Linked DNA regions of Homo sapiens: regions 1, 3, 4 and 5 are each linked to region 2. Evidence: promoter capture Hi-C in human tissues and cell types (Jung and others, 2019). All regions are on one chromosome and are shown on one strand. The core of a region is centred on a gene start or on the middle of the fragment in contact, and the rest is flanking DNA. Distances in the headings are between cores, read along the strand shown.

Evidence for each region. The method cuts DNA at HindIII sites, captures the fragments that hold promoters and counts their contacts. A contact is called where the count stands out against the background at its distance.
Region 1: a contact is called between a fragment that was not itself captured here and the fragment with the promoter of MAF in region 2, in 2 of the 25 tissues and cell types used here (dorsolateral prefrontal cortex and mesendoderm cells).
Region 3: a contact is called between a fragment that was not itself captured here and the fragment with the promoter of MAF in region 2, in 1 of the 25 tissues and cell types used here (dorsolateral prefrontal cortex).
Region 4: a fragment that was not itself captured here is called in contact with the fragment with the promoter of MAF in region 2 in 1 of the 25 tissues and cell types used here (hippocampus).
Region 5: a contact is called between a fragment that was not itself captured here and the fragment with the promoter of MAF in region 2, in 1 of the 25 tissues and cell types used here (aorta).

What each region holds. Positions count from the first base shown.
Region 1 is chr16:78,536,070-78,539,394 of GRCh38, reverse strand. All of the region lies in intron 8 of WWOX (WW domain containing oxidoreductase), which reads right to left. Among named protein-coding and RNA genes, the nearest start is that of WWOX-AS2, 38 kb to the right of the region's middle. The HindIII fragment of the contact is 5,244 bases long and covers 1-3,325 here.
Region 2 is chr16:79,598,926-79,602,663 of GRCh38, reverse strand. It overlaps MAF (MAF bZIP transcription factor), which reads left to right and starts at 1,927. Exons shown (of 2, transcript NM_005360.5): 1 at 1,927-3,738. The coding sequence starts at 2,762. It overlaps LOC101928230 (a long non-coding RNA gene), which reads right to left and starts at 1,777. Exons shown (of 3, transcript NR_188556.1): 1 at 1,675-1,777; 2 at 314-617. RefSeq lists an enhancer at 1,718-2,012. The HindIII fragment of the contact is 24,643 bases long and covers 1-3,738 here.
Region 3 is chr16:78,435,689-78,439,294 of GRCh38, reverse strand. All of the region lies in intron 8 of WWOX (WW domain containing oxidoreductase), which reads right to left. Among named protein-coding and RNA genes, the nearest start is that of WWOX-AS2, 63 kb to the left of the region's middle. The HindIII fragment of the contact is 3,131 bases long and covers 306-3,436 here.
Region 4 is chr16:78,454,723-78,458,511 of GRCh38, reverse strand. All of the region lies in intron 8 of WWOX (WW domain containing oxidoreductase), which reads right to left. Among named protein-coding and RNA genes, the nearest start is that of WWOX-AS2, 43 kb to the left of the region's middle. The HindIII fragment of the contact is 4,031 bases long and covers 182-3,789 here.
Region 5 is chr16:77,860,079-77,863,713 of GRCh38, reverse strand. VAT1L (vesicle amine transport 1 like) reads right to left here. Exons shown (of 9, transcript NM_020927.3): 4 at 824-966. Among named protein-coding and RNA genes, the nearest start is that of VAT1L, 73 kb to the right of the region's middle. The HindIII fragment of the contact is 6,734 bases long and covers 1-3,635 here.

The DNA of each region.
Region 1 (3,325 bases), core at 769-3,268, 1.1 Mb after region 2:
AGGCTACAACAATGGCTCCTATGACAAGAGCCCCTAGCAGGGAAACAGAGAGCTGGATATTTTTGCGAGTTATTTCAATTAATCCTCACAAGACTCCTTTACCAGTAGGACAAGGCTCACGCAGATTCCTGTGATTTTGTCTGTGCATCTAATTACTAACCTAACCACCATAGTTCAGTTGAACACATATTTATTGAGCAATTACTATGTGTCATGCACTGCAAAGTCTAGGGGAAAACCAAAATTCAATAAAACATCATTAAAGGCCTACAGACAGGCAGGCACAAGTTATCAGGGTTGCAAGTTCCTGAAATATTACGCAACACAAAATTGTGACTGCTGCCATGAGATGCTTCCATGTTCTCTGAATTGCTTCCTTACCAAGACTTCTTTCCCCATTCATCCCACAGCTGTGAAAGGGCATTGCTTGGTTTGCCGTCCAAAGCAGCTATTCCAGGTAATGGAAGAAATTGCAACAGAAGAAACATATAAACAAGGTAAGTTTTCAAATGCATCTCATAGGTACTATTCAGGACCAAATGAACAGAAATAAACAATCCTCCAATATCAGGTGACATATTTTATACATTTCCACCCATGCGTTTTAGGAAGGTAGCAGAAAGAAAATGCTCCTAAATCAGGGTTTTAAAATCAGATGCTGGTATTAGAAATAAGATTAACCTGGTCCCTTAACAATCAAATTTATTACTAGTAAAGGGTTATGAAAAATTCTATCTCGATGTCAAACATAGGAAACACAAAGTCTTTGGAGGCATATAATGATAAACTGCAGCTTGAGCAATTCTCTCAGAGAACAGAATGAGCAGTTCAGGAGTTCAGAGCATGCTCGTCTGGAAGGTGTTCAGTTAAAGAGGAGGGCAGGCTACAGACAAAGGCACGGAAAGGTCATCCATGGAGTCATTCCATCTTCATTACAGTGGGAAAGCCCGTGGCCGAAGTGCATACACCAGGCCTCAACTTGCACACCACGCAGAGGTTTAAGACTCATGGGGAAATTAAAATATTAAACAAACGTCAATGTATAGAGCGCTGGCAGCCGTGCCTAGATATTGCTATCTGAGCTTCCAGGTGCAACCCCAGACATCCAAAATAATGTGATATGAACATTCTCCAACCCCTTGCCCCGCTTTTTTTTTTTTTTTTTTTTTTTTTTTTGGTGTGAGTGATAGCTTAATTAAAGATTACAATCTATCTTCTTCAGAAGGCTAGAGAATGGACTGGCAATCACTAAATTTTCTTTCAGGTAACTGCCAAACTTAAATTTGTTCTTCCAAATAAAATAATTACCCCCTTCTGTGCCGCTCAAAATACCATGCTGGAAAAAAGACAGTGTTCATGATTTGCCCTATAATTCAACCCTCATCTTTTCCGTTTTCAAGAATCGGGGAAAGGTGAATTTCATTTACTGATTATCAGCAGGCCTCCTGAGAGATAGGCCGGGGCTGCTGTAAGGTGAAAAGCAGCTCTCACTGGCACCGCGGACAACCTTCCGGAGAAGGCCGAGGCCAGAGGCTTTTCCACTGCCGGGTGGCACCAACACGTGGGTGGATCGTTCTGGCCCTCCCAGCACACCCCTGATTACCTCCCTTTCAAATCCAGACAAAACCAGCTGCCAAATCCAGCTTCCTCATCACCCAAAAGGAAGCACTGGTCTACCCCTACATGAACTGTGGCAGCTGGGACCCTGGCTCTAACTCCAGCCCCCGAGACAGTTGTCACAACAACAACATCACAACCAAGCTCTTTCTTCGAGCCTATCTGTATGACTTTTCACAGATGAATTGGTTCCCAGTGGCAAACAATATGGTTTAGTATGTCAGCATGACCAATCGGATTATAAGACACAAGAGAAGAGGTAAATCATATGATAATGATGAAAACGATAAAACAATGAGAACTTTTAAAATTAAAAGGCAGTAGGTATCACATTAATGGGCTCAACATCTATAGTCAGTGAGAAAATCAGTTCCACCGCTTAGAAGACACGTGATTTAGGACAAGTTACATCTTCCTAACCCTTCATCTATCTACCTAGAAAATGCATATCATGTATCATTGGGTTATTTCAAAGATTAAGTCAGATAACAAACAGATGGAAGGAAGGCAGGGAGACAGGGAGGCAGGCAGACAACTCTAATACTTGAAATACTTGACTCTGGCTGGGTGTGGTGGGTCACCCCTGTAATCCCAGCACTTTGGGAGGCTGAGGCAGGCAGATCACCTGAGGTCAGGTGTTCAAGACCAGCCTGGACAACATGGCAAAACCCCGCCTCTACTAAAAATACAAATATTAGCTGAGTGTGGTGGTACATGCCTGTAGTCCCAGCTTCTCAGGACGTTGAGGCCTGATAATTGCTTGAACCTGAGAGGTGCACGTTGCAGTCAGTTGAGATTGTGCCACTGCAATCCAGTCTGGGTGACAGAGTGAGACTCTCTCTCTCAAAAAAGGAGGAAAAAAAAAAAAAAAAAAAAGACTTGGCTCTGCAACCAGCACATACTAAGTACTCAATAAACGACTTTCATTGTCCTTAAGCTGAGATCTATGATGAAGCTACACAGACATGGAAATTAAAAAAGAGAAATAATCCACATCAGCTAGAGGCAAGTCACCTTTTCCTCCTCCTCCTCCTTCGTCATCATTCTCCTCCATTTTCCCTTTTCATAGTCATGATCAGCATCAGAGACCACACTTTAGCTGGCTAAACCGGCACAATCCCATGCTCAGCTTTCTTTGCATGGGATTGCATTGATTCAATGTTGACACTTAATGGGGGAGGCTCAAACAGTACTGTCCTTGGCTACCATATACACTGGGATATGTAAGGGTGGTGCGAAGTTGCACCAAGAGAAAAACAATCAGCGGACTTCCCTCTTCACCTCCAGAGAGGACCTAAAGCAGAGAGAACCCAGCTCAGTGGGCAAGGCTGCATTCAGCCTGCCTTGTCGGCCAGTCCCTCACAGGACCCCGGGGCAGATTACATTATCTTGGATGCCCCACAGCTCGCAGCTTCTTTCTCATGGAACTGATCACACCCTTCAGGAGGGATACAGTCCTCATGCCTTCATTTAGCTGAGAAACTCAGACCCTCCAATCAACCTTTGGTTAAAATCTACATGACATTTACACTAAAAACTTCATTTTGGTGGGGGCAAAAGGGAGGAGAATGGCACCAAATTACACCCATGCATGTGTACTCTGGGGGTGGTTTATGTTGTGGTGCCTGTATCTTAAACCTAAGGATATAATAGGAGGGAACACTTAATGAATGCTTACTGTATACAAGGCCCCATGGCAAGCAATTTA
Region 2 (3,738 bases), core at 678-3,177:
GAAAATCCATCCTGGCACTTTTAAAGGGTTTGGGGCCCTGTTACATGGGGATCCTCTTGCAAAGGTCTCAGCCAGAAATTACACCCCGAGGGTGTCTGTATCCCCTGGCCTCTTTGTCAACAATCAAGGAGAAGAGGAGGGGCAAAAATGATCTCTGCATCTGCCAGCACTTTCTTCGGCCCCTTTCCTATAGGGTCGGGTTCTCCCACTTCAGTCAAACTAACTTTGTGTGTCTCTTTCCTCCTCCCACACTGGGTAACCAGCTGCTTTTCACTTCATCGACAAAACTGGACACGGATCAATTTCAACTGACCTTTGCCGAAAGGTGGCGCTGTTGAGGTAAAAACCAACTCGCTCCAACAATAGTTTCCACTCTTCGATCCTTTTGCAGGCTTTTCAGAATTTTTTTTTTTTTTTAATGCACCCTCCTAGCGTCTCCCCCTTCTCATAAAGTAAAATAAATACGATTAAAAACACCAAATGCATTTCATTAATTGAAGGAATCAACAGTCCCAACTTCTAAGCAGACGGGCTGGTCTTCCAAAGGCTGGGTCGGTTTCAGGAGCTTTCTCTCCAAATAAATCTCTGCTTCTTCGACTTGCCTATCGCTTTAAAATCTTAGAAACAGAGTTAGTTGTTGGTTTCCTTCTTTTTTCTTTTTCTTTTTTATTTCTTTTTTGCATAAACTTTTAGAGAATCAATCTAGAAATTTGAACTACTTATTAGCATTTGCAACTGGGGGTGGGGGGAGCAGCCTCCCCCACCCCACCCCCCACTCTGCGTTTCCGGACTAGTTCCAGAAACCGCGGTTTAAAATTTAACCCTTCGAGGGTAGCTGGTGAGGGCTGGGGTATTGTTTTTCCCCCTTGCTCCCTGCCACGATCAAGTCCGAAATAATTAAAGGAAACGTAAAAGTGCAAAGGGCGCGCCTGACCCTGATAAACAGAGGTCAGATTTCGTAAGGGGACGGGTGAGTGTGAGTGTGTGTGTGTTTGTGTGTGTGTGTGTAAGAGAGAGAGAGAGCGAGCGCGCAATATGAGTCTCAAAGGCCAAACTCCGGCCAGTCAGGAGCCGGAAGGCTGAGCCCGGCTGACCTGACTTTGAGCTTCCCCGGAGTTATCTCGCATAGGCGCTCGCTCTGTCCAAGGGCACGCGACGCCAGCGGGCAGCCGGTCTCCGTGAAGAATGGCCTCTAAACAACTTATTTTACCTCGTTGTAAAGAGAGGGATAAAATGGGCTTTCCCTCTCCACGGATGCCCAGCCTTCTGGGCAGGCGCATGGCCGGGCGGCGCCCAGCCCGCAGCCCCGATCCGGACACCCCACTGCATCCCTCCCTTCCCGGTCCCTTCCCCGCACGGGCGCCCGAGAGACGGACAAAGAGTTGGGGCCAAGTTTGAGCGCCGGGCACGGCCAGGCTCAGGGAAGGAAGGTCCCCGGCAGACACCTGGGTACCAGAGTTGGTGCGAGGAGGAAAAGCTGGGAGGCGAATTCACAATCCTGGGGGTGGAGGGCAGGCAGGGGAGGGGAATCAGGCCAATCCCAGCCGAGTGAGCCCCCAGCGAGCTGGGGCTCCGGATGGGAGGCCTGTCTCGCGCTCCAAAGAAAAGCAAACCGCCCTCCCAGGTCCGCCCGGATTGCCGAAGCCCCTCTGGAAAAACTCCTTCCCCTCTTACACCAAACTTTGCGCCGGGCCTCGTTCCCTCCCGGGTAGGCAGCGGCGCAGGAAGGGTTAAGCCAGCCCGTCCCAGCTGACAGTCAGCTGATTGGGCCCTGATTGACAGCTCCGAAAAGTTTCCTTGTTTCTATACTATTATGCTAATCGCGGCCGCTCTCGCCGCCTCCCATTGGCCCGGAGTGCCAGTCAATTTCTCATTTGGACCTGACGTCACGAGTGCTATAAAACTCAGCAATTGCTTTAAACTCTTCTTGCTGGATCAGAGGCTTTAAAATCTTTTTTCATCTTCTAGCTGTAGCTCGGGCTGCTTGTCGGCTTGGCCTCCCCCTCCCCCCTTTGCTCTCTGCCTCGTCTTTCCCCAGGACTTCGCTATTTTGCTTTTTTAAAAAAAGGCAAGAAAGAACTAAACTCCCCCCTCCCTCTCCTCCAGTCGGGCTGCACCTCTGCCTTGCACTTTGCACAGAGGTAGAGAGCGCGCGAGGGAGAGAGAGGAAAGAAAAAAAATAATAAAGAGAGCCAAGCAGAAGAGGAGGCGAGAAGCATGAAGTGTTAACTCCCCCGTGCCAAGGCCCGCGCCGCCCGGACAGACGCCCGCCGCGCCTCCAGCCCCGAGCGGACGCCGCGCGCGCCCTGCCTGCAGCCCGGGCCGGCGAGGCGAGCCCTTCCTTATGCAAAGCGCGCAGCGGAGCGGCGAGCGGGGGACGCCGCGCACCGGGCCGGGCTCCTCCAGCTTCGCCGCCGCAGCCACCACCGCCGCCACCGCAGCTCGCGGAGGATCTTCCCGAGCCTGAAGCCGCCGGCTCGGCGCGCAAGGAGGCGAGCGAGCAAGGAGGGGCCGGGGCGAGCGAGGGAGCACATTGGCGTGAGCAGGGGGGAGGGAGGGCGGGCGCGGGGGGCGCGGGCAGGGCGGGGGGGTGTGTGTGTGAGCGCGCTCGGAGGTTTCGGGCCAGCCACCGCCGCGCAAGCTAGAAGCGCCCCAGCCCGGCAAGCTGGCTCACCCGCTGGCCACCCAGCACAGCCCGCTGGCCCCTCTCCTGCAGCCCATCTGGCGGAGCGGCGGCGGCGGCGGCGGCGGCGGCAGGAGAATGGCATCAGAACTGGCAATGAGCAACTCCGACCTGCCCACCAGTCCCCTGGCCATGGAATATGTTAATGACTTCGATCTGATGAAGTTTGAAGTGAAAAAGGAACCGGTGGAGACCGACCGCATCATCAGCCAGTGCGGCCGTCTCATCGCCGGGGGCTCGCTGTCCTCCACCCCCATGAGCACGCCGTGCAGCTCGGTGCCCCCTTCCCCCAGCTTCTCGGCGCCCAGCCCGGGCTCGGGCAGCGAGCAGAAGGCGCACCTGGAAGACTACTACTGGATGACCGGCTACCCGCAGCAGCTGAACCCCGAGGCGCTGGGCTTCAGCCCCGAGGACGCGGTCGAGGCGCTCATCAGCAACAGCCACCAGCTCCAGGGCGGCTTCGATGGCTACGCGCGCGGGGCGCAGCAGCTGGCCGCGGCGGCCGGGGCCGGTGCCGGCGCCTCCTTGGGCGGCAGCGGCGAGGAGATGGGCCCCGCCGCCGCCGTGGTGTCCGCCGTGATCGCCGCGGCCGCCGCGCAGAGCGGCGCGGGCCCGCACTACCACCACCACCACCACCACGCCGCCGGCCACCACCACCACCCGACGGCCGGCGCGCCCGGCGCCGCGGGCAGCGCGGCCGCCTCGGCCGGTGGCGCTGGGGGCGCGGGCGGCGGTGGCCCGGCCAGCGCTGGGGGCGGCGGCGGCGGCGGCGGCGGCGGAGGCGGCGGGGGCGCGGCGGGGGCGGGGGGCGCCCTGCACCCGCACCACGCCGCCGGCGGCCTGCACTTCGACGACCGCTTCTCCGACGAGCAGCTGGTGACCATGTCTGTGCGCGAGCTGAACCGGCAGCTGCGCGGGGTCAGCAAGGAGGAGGTGATCCGGCTGAAGCAGAAGAGGCGGACCCTGAAAAACCGCGGCTATGCCCAGTCCTGCCGCTTCAAGAGGGTGCAGCAGAGACACGTCCTGGAGTCGGAGAAGAACCAGCTGCTGCAGCA
Region 3 (3,606 bases), core at 622-3,121, 1.2 Mb after region 2:
TCTGGACTGGCAAGAGAAAGGCAACCAGAAAATTCAAACCTCACTCAGGAGTCTCAAAATGTTTAGATTCATGAAGAATACAATGAAATTTCCACTTTGAAAACCATATTTCCCCCTCGCAACAGAAAGCCTGTTTTATACACCCTCTGCCTTGTATGTGATACACCAATGTACCAATACACATTCAAACAGGGGGCTTTGCCCTTGATAGTATCTATAGTGTAGTCAGCTGCAGGTATTTAAAGATGGAAAGGGGGAGAAGTATTTTTCTAAAATACTAATTTCAGGAACAAATCAACATCTATTATCTCCTTCATTACGTTTTAAATTGTACAACTATAAATCACCCTGCAGCGGGTTATTCAAGGGCAGAATTACCCCGTTTGGCTTTCACGAAGGTTAGAAGAATGACATCTTGTGCTTTTTCTAGTTATAATTTATAACTTTGCAACAGGACCAGCATTGCCGGCCCATCCATTAGCAGGGTAGCTGCACATCCGTTAAAACTCAGCACGATGACTGGCTTTACACGGGCACAGGAAACGTAACCCGATCGTCGCAGAAGTTCCATAAACGTAAGCCATTTTTTAATGTAAAATGATTTGAAAATGCAGTTCCCTAAAACATCTGCTAAGCTCTTGCTACCCTAACACATGATATTCTTTCTACTGTTATCTGCCAACACAAATATGTGGTTGCACAAAACACTCCTAAGAGGCAAGTGACAGTGCTCAACTTCAAATCTGCATACTGGTCCACAAAGGACCGGCTTGGACCTGGGAACTCTGGCAAGGATGTATTTACCAGAAATGAAAGCTTATGTGGAAAAAAAAAAGGTGGGGTTGGCGGTGGTGGCAGCATTCATTTCAGTGAAGGTGCTGTCAAACATTTTAAAAAGGAAGCATAACTGCATAACTAGATATGGATGCCAGGGGCATTACCGTGCATTGGACAAAGCAAATGCAGCTGCAATTAGCAAGTGAAAGTTTACAAGGCTGGTATATCATTTTCTTGAACACGCTGCATGAGGTTTCTGTGCTTTTCAATTACAAAATAAAGATAATAATTCTAAGATTGTAGAACTTGGAATTATTAATTCTAACAGAAATTATGAGAAATTAATGAAAATATATGCTGATACATAAAGCATCGTGGTATCTGGGAAAATGGTCAATCTGCATCTCTATTTGGAAGTGTGGTAGGATTCTAAAGTCATCACACATGGTTACAACTGCAAAAACCCAAGATTAGCCTTGAAAATCCCTTATGTGCACCAGATACAACACCTGGTTTTGTGAATTAAAACCCATAGACTAATATGTATATATAAATATAGATACTAAAATACAATACATTTTTTCACCAACTCGAAAGTTCTTACCAAACAATACACATTAATGCGTGCAGGTGCAAAACATTTTAGAGTAATTTAACTGCATAAAAGAATGCTCTAGAGTCAAGAAAATAAACATGTAATGCACGTATGATGTGACTTCATTATTAGAAAGTACTCAGCAAATGTTAGTTTCCTTTAACATATTTTAGAAGCAGCTATTTGAAGTATATTGCATCTTTTTTAGAACGACACTTAAAAATAACTCACTTTCCAAGTTTATCTGTGATTTTTATTTCACCATAAATTGAAGGGAGGAAGAAACAAACACTTCCCTCCCAGGACGCCCCAATACACTTGTCCAGTTCTCTGGATCTGAAGAAGAAGAGGGAGGCAGAGACATGGCTTTACCAGTAGGGGCCGCTGTGCTGAGAATTGATTCCTGTGAGTTTCTCATTAGTGATTATTATATTGCAGGCAGCCAAAATGGAAAAATTAATTAATTTCAAAGTGATAATGCATTTACAGCAACAATTAGAAATGTGTAACTGTAAAAGGGCAACATTTAAAAGACAGATCACATTTAATAAAGTTGCACAAGAACATCCAATTGTAAAATTACTGATCTGCAACAATATTCCTTAAAGAGGCACTTAAAATAGCCCGACTCCATGAAGAGTGACCTAATTACTGTAACTAAAATCACCGTAGTCACAGCAAGTCACAGCAAATAAAAAAGGGACGTTGATATTAGAATACTGCTGTTTAATACTTAAGGGAGCCAGCTACAGAGAAGAAATGAAGGCAGGGCTTCCGAGCGCAAGTCTGGGTTGTATTTCTTGCTCCCCTGACCTCATGCAACAGAATGTGTACTCCAGCAATACCCGTGTCAGAAGGAAGCACCCTCTCTAAGGTAAAAGGCAGACAAGGCAGAGCACACTAGCCATCTGGTGATAGGGACATTGCATCTATGCTAAGCTTCTCAATCACAATTAGAAACCCAGCCTTTACCTACGGAAGAAATGGGATGCAACTGCGTGGCTTATATCCAAAAATATGTCTGCATTCAAATAGCAGAAATGCACCCTTTGTCCAAGAAACTGATGCATTATCCTGACGGAAGCAATGCCGAGCCACATACGCAGGATAGCCCAAGAGGGTGACTTTTCCAGTCAGTCTGGTCTATCTTACTAGGAAAATGACCAACCCGAGGTCTACATTCACAGTGATTCCTCTCCTAAATACAGAGTCCTAAATGTTTATGAAAGAAAAGTGAATGCCTGTGAATTTGACAAGCAAGCTCAGAGCGCCAATTCCACCTCTGCATGAAGTGACGTATTACTTTCAATGGCAAAAACCTCAATAACTTCTGTATCAACCTAATATAGAGAACGCTGATGGCTAAAAAAGTACTACCAAACGCTTAAATATATAAATACACTAGAGAGGATTTTAGTAAGACTCTTAGCTACATATTCCACAGTCTTCGTCATCTTCATGCTTATCTAAAGTCCATTTGTGACATATAAAAGCTGCTATTTTCTAATCACTCAAGGTCAGAAACAAGAAAAGTCCACACCCTACGGCTTCCTCACAAATGAGACGTGCAGGTTGGAGATCACTGAACCAGGGTCCCTTCACCTGGACGCCCTTTCTACCTGGCCAGTAAACCTCTCCCTGAGTCTTTGGGGCCAGGGACAAAGCCCTTCTCTTCCCTTTCCAGACTCCCAATTTGCAGACTCTTGTTCTGTCAGCAGAGATTACATTTTGGAGAATCATCATCGGGACCAAGGCACTGCTCACAACGACAAGAGTAACAGCCATCGTGGCAGGAAGTACTGCATACCTCCCATGCGAAAGGCACTGAGCTAGGCATGTCATTTGACCACGCTCTCCAGTATGGCAGCCACTTGGCACACGTGGTGTTTTTCAGTTCGAATTAACAAACATGGAATCAAATTGAAAATTCACTTCCTCAGTTCTATTAGCCACATTTTTAGAACTCAATAGCCACATGTGGCCCACGACTACCATACTGGAGAGCCAGATTATAATAACTGCAGAAATTCTATATCCATCATTATTGATGTTATATGCATTATTGTCGGTCCTTACACTAACCTGTATCACAATTTTCATCGTAATGAGACAGGCTCAGAAAGCTGGTGACATGTCTAAGTTGTTCCAGTGGTCAAGGGTAAGAGCTGAGCTTAGCCATCAGCACCATTAGCAGGAGAGCTGTGAGGTCCACTGTCCCAGGTTGCCACTTTCTT
Region 4 (3,789 bases), core at 948-3,447, 1.1 Mb after region 2:
AGGTGGGAGGATGGCTTGAGCACAGGAGTTCCAGACCAGCCTGGGCAACATAGGGAAACCTTGTCTCTATAAAAAATTAAAAACATTAGCCGAACATGGTGGCATTGCCAATAGTCCCAGCTACTTGGGAGGCTGAGGCCAGAGGATTGCTTGAGCCTGGGAGGTCAAGACTGCAGTGAGCTGTGATCACGCCACTGTACTCTAGCCTGAATAACACAGTAAGACCCTGTATCAAAAAAAAAAAAAAAAAAAACTATACCAATGAAACAATTAATTAATTGGCAGGGAATAGAAGTGGGCAGAATATATAATAAAACAGTATGTAGGGCAAGTTCGACAAAATCATGGAACACACCTTCACATCTGAGGGATTTCTCTTCTAGAAACAAGGGGATACGAACTCCAGGATGAGAAGTCAGGCAACTTACTAAGCCCAGGTAAAGTTTTTTTTTTGTCACCCAGGCTGGAGTGCAGTGGCACCATCTTGGCTCACTGCAACCTCCGCCTCCCAGGTTCAGGCAGTTCTGGTGCCTCAGCCTCTGGATAGCTGTGATTACAGGCACCTGCCACTACGCCCAGCTAATTTTTTTTTTTTTTTTTTTGAGTCAGAGTCTCACGCTCAGGCTGGAGTGCAGTAGGGCGATCTTGGCTCACTGAAAGCTCCGCCTCCCGGGATCAGGCCATTCTCCTGCCTCAGCCTCCCAAGTAGCTGGGACTACAGGCGCCCGCCACCACGCCCAGCTATAATTTTTGTATTTTTAGTAGAGATGAGGTTTCACCATGTTGGCCAAGCTGGTCTCGAACTCCTGACCTCAGGTGATCCACCTGCCTCGGCCTCCCAAAGTGCTGGGATTACAGGCATGAGCCACCGTACATGGCCAGTTCATGTTATTTTCATGTGCGTCCTCTGCAGCCCCCACAAATGTTGTAAATGCAGAGTCTTATAAAAACGGCTGTTAAGATTTCCCCAAATAAAGCTTAGCATTTGGGGAAAAAAAAGATTGGTGAATGAAAAAAAGAATCAACAGTTTTTCTATTTCCACCTACCAATTGGTGAAATTCACCTTCGCTTTCTCAGGACGTACGTGGAAGACACGAAGCAATACCTGGTTGGTGCAGCTCTCTATCTAAAGACCTGTACTTAGTCATTACTTTGAAGGAACCAAGAGAACAAGTAGCAAATCTGAACTGAATGAAAAGACTTCTTGCTGCTTTATTTAAAGTCGTGCAATGGAATATTTGCAGGAGAGCTTTTGCTACCTCTGGATAATCCTGTTCCAGAAGAACTGTTATCTGAGATCCCAGGAAGGTTCCTGAAAGGTCTATTAATGAAGACAACAGAAACAAAACAAAAAAGGGTGCAGACACAGACACGATCAGAGAGAATGTTACCATTCTGTCTGAACACTGCCAATTCCCTTAACGGCACAGAAGATTCAAATCGTAGGGTGGGCACATATTGTGTGACATTTCAACATCAAATTAACCATCCTGCCAGTAGCATCATTTAAGGCAGTGTTAGCAAAAATGCTGCCAGCCCACAAGGGGATGTGCATCTTCCCTCTTCAAACAATGCAAGTAACTCTTCATAAGGGTGATCAGCCAACGCCACGTGAACTAATTTGATAGTTCCATCATCTGATGCATTGCAAATTTCATTACATATTTTAAATCATGTTAACATGGTTTGTTAATGTTGGTATTCACTAAAAAGCCACAGCACTTTAAATAATGAATGGGCATGATAATTTTTACACATATTATGAAACTGAGACATGTGGATATTCTACCTTTTCTCTTCTTAGAATCTGTCTTACATCCTTTGTTAAGAGTCATCAACAAAAAATATATCAGGATGTTTCAGAAACACCACAGATTCAGAATTTTTAAATTTTTTTATAAAAATGAACTACATACCCATCAGAAGAAAAAAATACTTCAAATTATGTTAAAATATTGTTCTATATTAGCTCTATCAGGTATCCCTGGGACAAGAATTTAAGGCTATTGCTTAAGACAGCAAACCAAAAAGAGACAAAGTATTTTGTTAAGTGCTCAATCTTAAATATCAAATATTTTCTATTGCTTTGTTTATGCACACATGCATAAACAAAATTAAATTTTTTTTAACAAGTTTGTTTCCATTGCTACTTGTACAACATTAGGACTATTTTCTTCTCTTGCCTCTCAGCCCCCAACACTATTCACAGACACTCGTGACATTTCTAAGTGGTCAACTCTTCCAGCCTCTCTTTTGGTGTCTATGTTAAAAATGTGTCCCTCTTCCCAACTTACTGTGTTGCTGCTATAAAAACAACCTCTGAATCTCAGACACAACCTGGGGCCAACAGAGGCTGTGGGTGGCAGGGATTTAGAGCTTGGGCACTTCAGTCCGTTGCAAGGGGCTTGAATCCTCCTCCACCCCCTTTAGTTACATAGCCTTGTCCACGTCACTGATTCCCTCTAAGCTCCTTCGGTAGTAACAAAAGTAGAATCAGCATGAGAAATAGATAAGCTACATAGCACAGGTCCTGGCCTATAGCCACTGCCGGCCTATGCCAGCTCCCTTAAGTGCACAGGAGATTAAAATAATGTTAACACAAATACTAGTTAAAATAATGTAAAAATAAAAGTTAGTTTTTTAAATCTCATCATCACTGCTCACTTCCGTCATCATCAACTTTAACATGAGGTCCTTGGTGGCCTTTTTTTTTTTTTTAACCTTCACCTCCCCCAGGCATCATTACAAATTCATGTTCATTACTTGAACCTTTGCTATAATATTGAATTTGTCTTGATTTAAATTTTGAAATGTTATCATATTTTTTGCATCAATTTTGATTTTTTTTTTTTTTTTTTTTTTTTTTTGAGACAGAGTCTTGCTCTGTTAACCCAGGCTGGAGTGCAGTGGCATGATCTCAGCTTACTGCAGCCTCCTACTCCCAGGTTCAAGCAATTCTCGTGCCTCAGCATCCAGAGTAGCTGGGACTACAGGCACACACTACCACACACCCAGCTAATTTTTGTGTTTTTAGTAGAGATGGCATTTCACCATTTTGGCCAGGCTGGTCTCAAACTCCTGAACTCTGGTGATCCGTCCACCTTGGCCTCCCAAAATGCTGGAATCACAGGCATGAGCCACCACACCTAGCCTCGATTTTTTAAAATATTAGATTAGAATATCATTTATCTTCATTACTGAGGTTTTTAGCACCCCCATAACTTTGTCCATCGTCCTTGTCCCAGCCCAGCCACAGCTACAAAGAGAACCTAAAATTCTCTCGTTTGTGTCAACATGTTTGCCTCCGACACATCATTCAAGTCTCAGTAAAGACGTCATCTCTGTTCTGCAACTTTATCTGACTCCTCTTCTATCTATCCTCAAGACAGAAAAGCCACACATCCCAGTGCTGCTCATCTCACCTCCCTTTCACATTCTTCCCATCTCCATCCTTCTAAGGTAGGCACCCATAGAGCCAAGAGAACACCTTGCTCATTTTTGCATTTGCTATGCCTTAAGTCAGTACCTGACATGTGGGGCACTCAATGAACATTTATCAGAGGGGAGCACATCAAACAGTATTGGGGCAGTGACTGCCAAAGAACAGACTGTGATCTAGCGGGGTGGTGAAACCAATAGTGGGTGGTGAAAGCAACAGTTGGTATTGAAACTGGGTCATCATTGGCACATACACAAAAACAAAACAAAAAACACAGGTGGGCACGGTGGCTCAAGCCTGCAATCCCAGCACTTTGGGAGGCTGAGGAGGATGGATCACCTGACGTTGA
Region 5 (3,635 bases), core at 528-3,027, 1.7 Mb after region 2:
GGACTTGCACCCCAGTAAGCCTTCTTGTAGTTCTCCCAGCCTCTGAGGCTCTTGCATTCCTCAGTATGCATGCACACGACTTTCCTTTCCCAGAGCAGCCCCCTCCCTGCCCCTTTCTTCCTATGGATAATTCTGGCTCATGCTTCACTGTTCAGAGAGGTGCTATCTATACAGGAAAATCACGGGCTCCGAAGTTGAAATGCCTGGCTTGACTCCAGGCTCCACCCTTTACTGCCAGTGCCAGGCCTTTCTGGGTGCACCCAATGACAAGGTTTCTCAGTTTGCTTTCAGTAAGGCGTAGCCAACGACCTGAGCAGTAGTGCTAGACTATGAGAAGGGTGTGTGTTCTTTCTGGGACTGGCCCATAAAACCTCCTATTCATGACCCTTTGGTGCTGTCTGCCCATCTGTTGGCTAGAAGCAAAGGACCTTTAGACCCAAGACAATAGTGGAACCATAAGATGAAAAGAGCCTGGGTCTCTGAATGCTCTTACAGAAGATCATCCACCAAATATCCACCTTAAGCTATCATGTGAATGAATGAGAAATAAACTTCCATGTGTTAAGATGGTCAAATAGGAGCTAGCGTAACTTTAATACATTAACTTTCCAAGTTAGCCGATTCGTTCCTTGGTGATAATAGTGAGGTTAAGAGGATTAAATGAACTAATGCGTGTGAAATATTTGGCACAGAGCTAATAATACTAAGCCCCCAATATATGTTTGCTACATATTATTATTATCCCTCTTTTAAATAAGTGCTACTGCTCTTTGAGAGCAGAGCAAGGGCCAGCCTGGTGCTTTTTCAAAAGCAAACATCTTACCTTTTAACTTCTTGCACGTAGTCTGCATTTCTGTCAAAGAGGTGGGTCACAGAGTCTTTGATTGCTTCATGCTTGAAAGTAGAGGCTGTTCCAAAGACAGTCACGTTGGGGACAGTGGAACACAGCTGAGCCACAGCTTGACCCTGGAAGGAAAAGACAATAGCTATGTCACACATAGGAGCCACCAGATCATAGCCAGTCTTGCTGGGTGTAGAGCAGGATTTCTCCATCGGCACTATTGACTTTTTTTTTTTTTTTTTTTTTTTTAGAGATGGAGTCTCACTCTGTCACTCAGGCTGGAGTGCAATGTGCAGTGGTGCGATCTCGGCTCACTGCAACCTCTACCTCCTGTGTTCTAGCGATTCTCCTGCCTCAGCCTCCCAAGTAGCTGGGACTACAGGCACATGCTGCCATGCCCGGTTAATTTTTTGTATTTTTCGTAGAGATGGGGTTTCACCGTGTTGCCCAGGCTGGTCTCGAACTCCTGAGCTCAGGTAATCCACCCGCCTCAGCCTCCTAAAGTGCTAGGATTACAGGCGCAAGCCACTGTGCCCGGGGGGCCTTTTTAAGGTTGGATTAGTCTTTGTGGTAGGAGACTGTACTATGCATTGTCAGATGTTTAGCCCTCCAGGCCTCTACCTACTACATGCCAGTAGCATCCTCCCAGTTGTGACAACCACAAATGTATCCAGACATTGCAAAGTGTCGCCTTGGTGGAAGGACAAAATGTCCTGTGGTTAAGAATCACTGGCATAGAGGAAAGTCAATGGGAATCAGGCGAATCCAAGCACCAAGACTTAAAAACTGATATCTTACAATGCCACCTACTTCACAGCGCTCTTGCAGATGTCTTAGTTTGGGTACCCCAGAAGCCGAACCTAAGATAACGATTTGGATGTAGGTATTTTACCTGGACAATGATCTCCGGAAATAACAAGGTATTAAGACAGTAAAAGAAGGCAGCCAATAAAAGATGTGTTATCAAGGCCATATCTACCATGTGTAACTGGAGCTCAATCCCTCTGGGGAACCCTGTGAGCAAGTGTAGAATACGCCTCTGAGTTATCCCAACCATGAGCAAGGAAGCCGGAGTATTTATCCAGCACATTTGCATCTGATACTTGTTGAGGGCTGCTTCTGCAATAGTAATTCTTGTGCCTATCTGGCTTCTTCCAGTCAAGTGGGCTCCCACAGCAGACAGAAGTCCTAAGCAACCTTCGGCATGTTAAGTGCAGAAAAGATAGGATGTGGCTGACAGCATCTTCTACAGGGAAGTGTAAATAAGGTATTTTGCAACACAGGTCAAAGACCTGGCACAAAATGTGACACTTAGATAATAAATCCTAATTACCTTTCCCCCTTAGGGGCTTATTATATCCATTGCCGAGATGTCCAGGCATATAGAGAAGAGGTCAACACAAGTTTTAAATATTAAGTGGTCCAGGGGAAATCACAAATGCAGTTAGGAGCAGGTTTATTTTTCCATATCGTTTTTCAGTATGGTCAAACTTGAAGTCATTGGACAAAATGTTGTGGTCATGTATATTCAGGCATTTTCCAGTAAAACCCAGTTTTCTGGTAACTAAGGTGCATTCTAAAGCCAAGTGTTGTCTCTTTCTGGTGTTCCATCTGCCATTTTAAGGAGGGAAAATATTCTACCAGCGTCATCTGTGATGTTAATTTCTGCCTATCATCTTATTTTCATGTCTTCATGCTGGCGGACTAAATCAGGTTGGCAGGTCAATTTATGGAAATGTCATCTTATCACCCGTTGCAATTAAAGGCAACACTGAGAGAATCACAGAATGTCAGAGTTGGAAGATCATCCAATTACCCCCTCCCCTGACTGCTCTATAGATAAAGGAAAAGACATTCAGAAAGGTTAAGGTTACCCACTTTTTCAGAGGCAAATCTGGGATTCAAAGTAAGGTCTCCTGGTTTCCACTTATTACCACTTTCCATTGTTATGCTGTCTACTTATTTTGACATTTTAAGCAAAGCAGGCTTTAAACTTCCTACCTAAAATAGACATGTTGCTGGCACACTCCCTTGGAGGTCAACATTTCAGAATATGGGCATGAACCTGAGACTCTGGACAGGCTATAGTTTTCTGTCCTAAGAATAGCATTGATACTTGTTTAATTCTCCTGCCTTCTAGATTTTATAAAGCAAAGAGAGGACTATCTTTTCTAGGGAGGGTAAATATCAGCAACCAATGCAGCAATTCTCTAAAATTTGCTGGCCTCAGATATGTCATAGTTATAGCTCCTTATGGACAGCGCTTGAGATAACCTTCTTACTACTGGGATGGGAAATTACAATTAGTTCCAGTCTCCCTGTATTCCCTTCGCCCTCTGTCCTTAGGCAAATAGGATATTCATTTATTCATTCAACTATTTTTCAAATTTCTATTCTGTACTGGTTGCACTGTGCTATGAATGCCAGAGTGTCCAAAATGATTGGCATGTGTTAATCTCCGGTCCCAAGCTGCCCACTGAGTCCTGGACTTGGGTCTCTATCGTTTTGGCATTTGTCTCCACCTGGCTGTCCCAAAAGCGACACATCACACTCAACTGATCCAAAACCTAACTCGTGGCCATCTCTGAATGAGTTACTCCCTAAGTCAGTTTCCTAGTGCTGCTGTAACAAAGTTCTACTGACCCAGTGGCTTAAACATCAGAAATTCCTTTTCTCACAGTTCTGGAGGCTCAAAGTCTAAAATCAAGGTGTTGGCAGGGTTGGTTCCTTCTGAGGGATGTGAGCGAAAGATCTATTCCAGGCCTTTCTCCTCGGCTTGTAGATGTGCCTATTC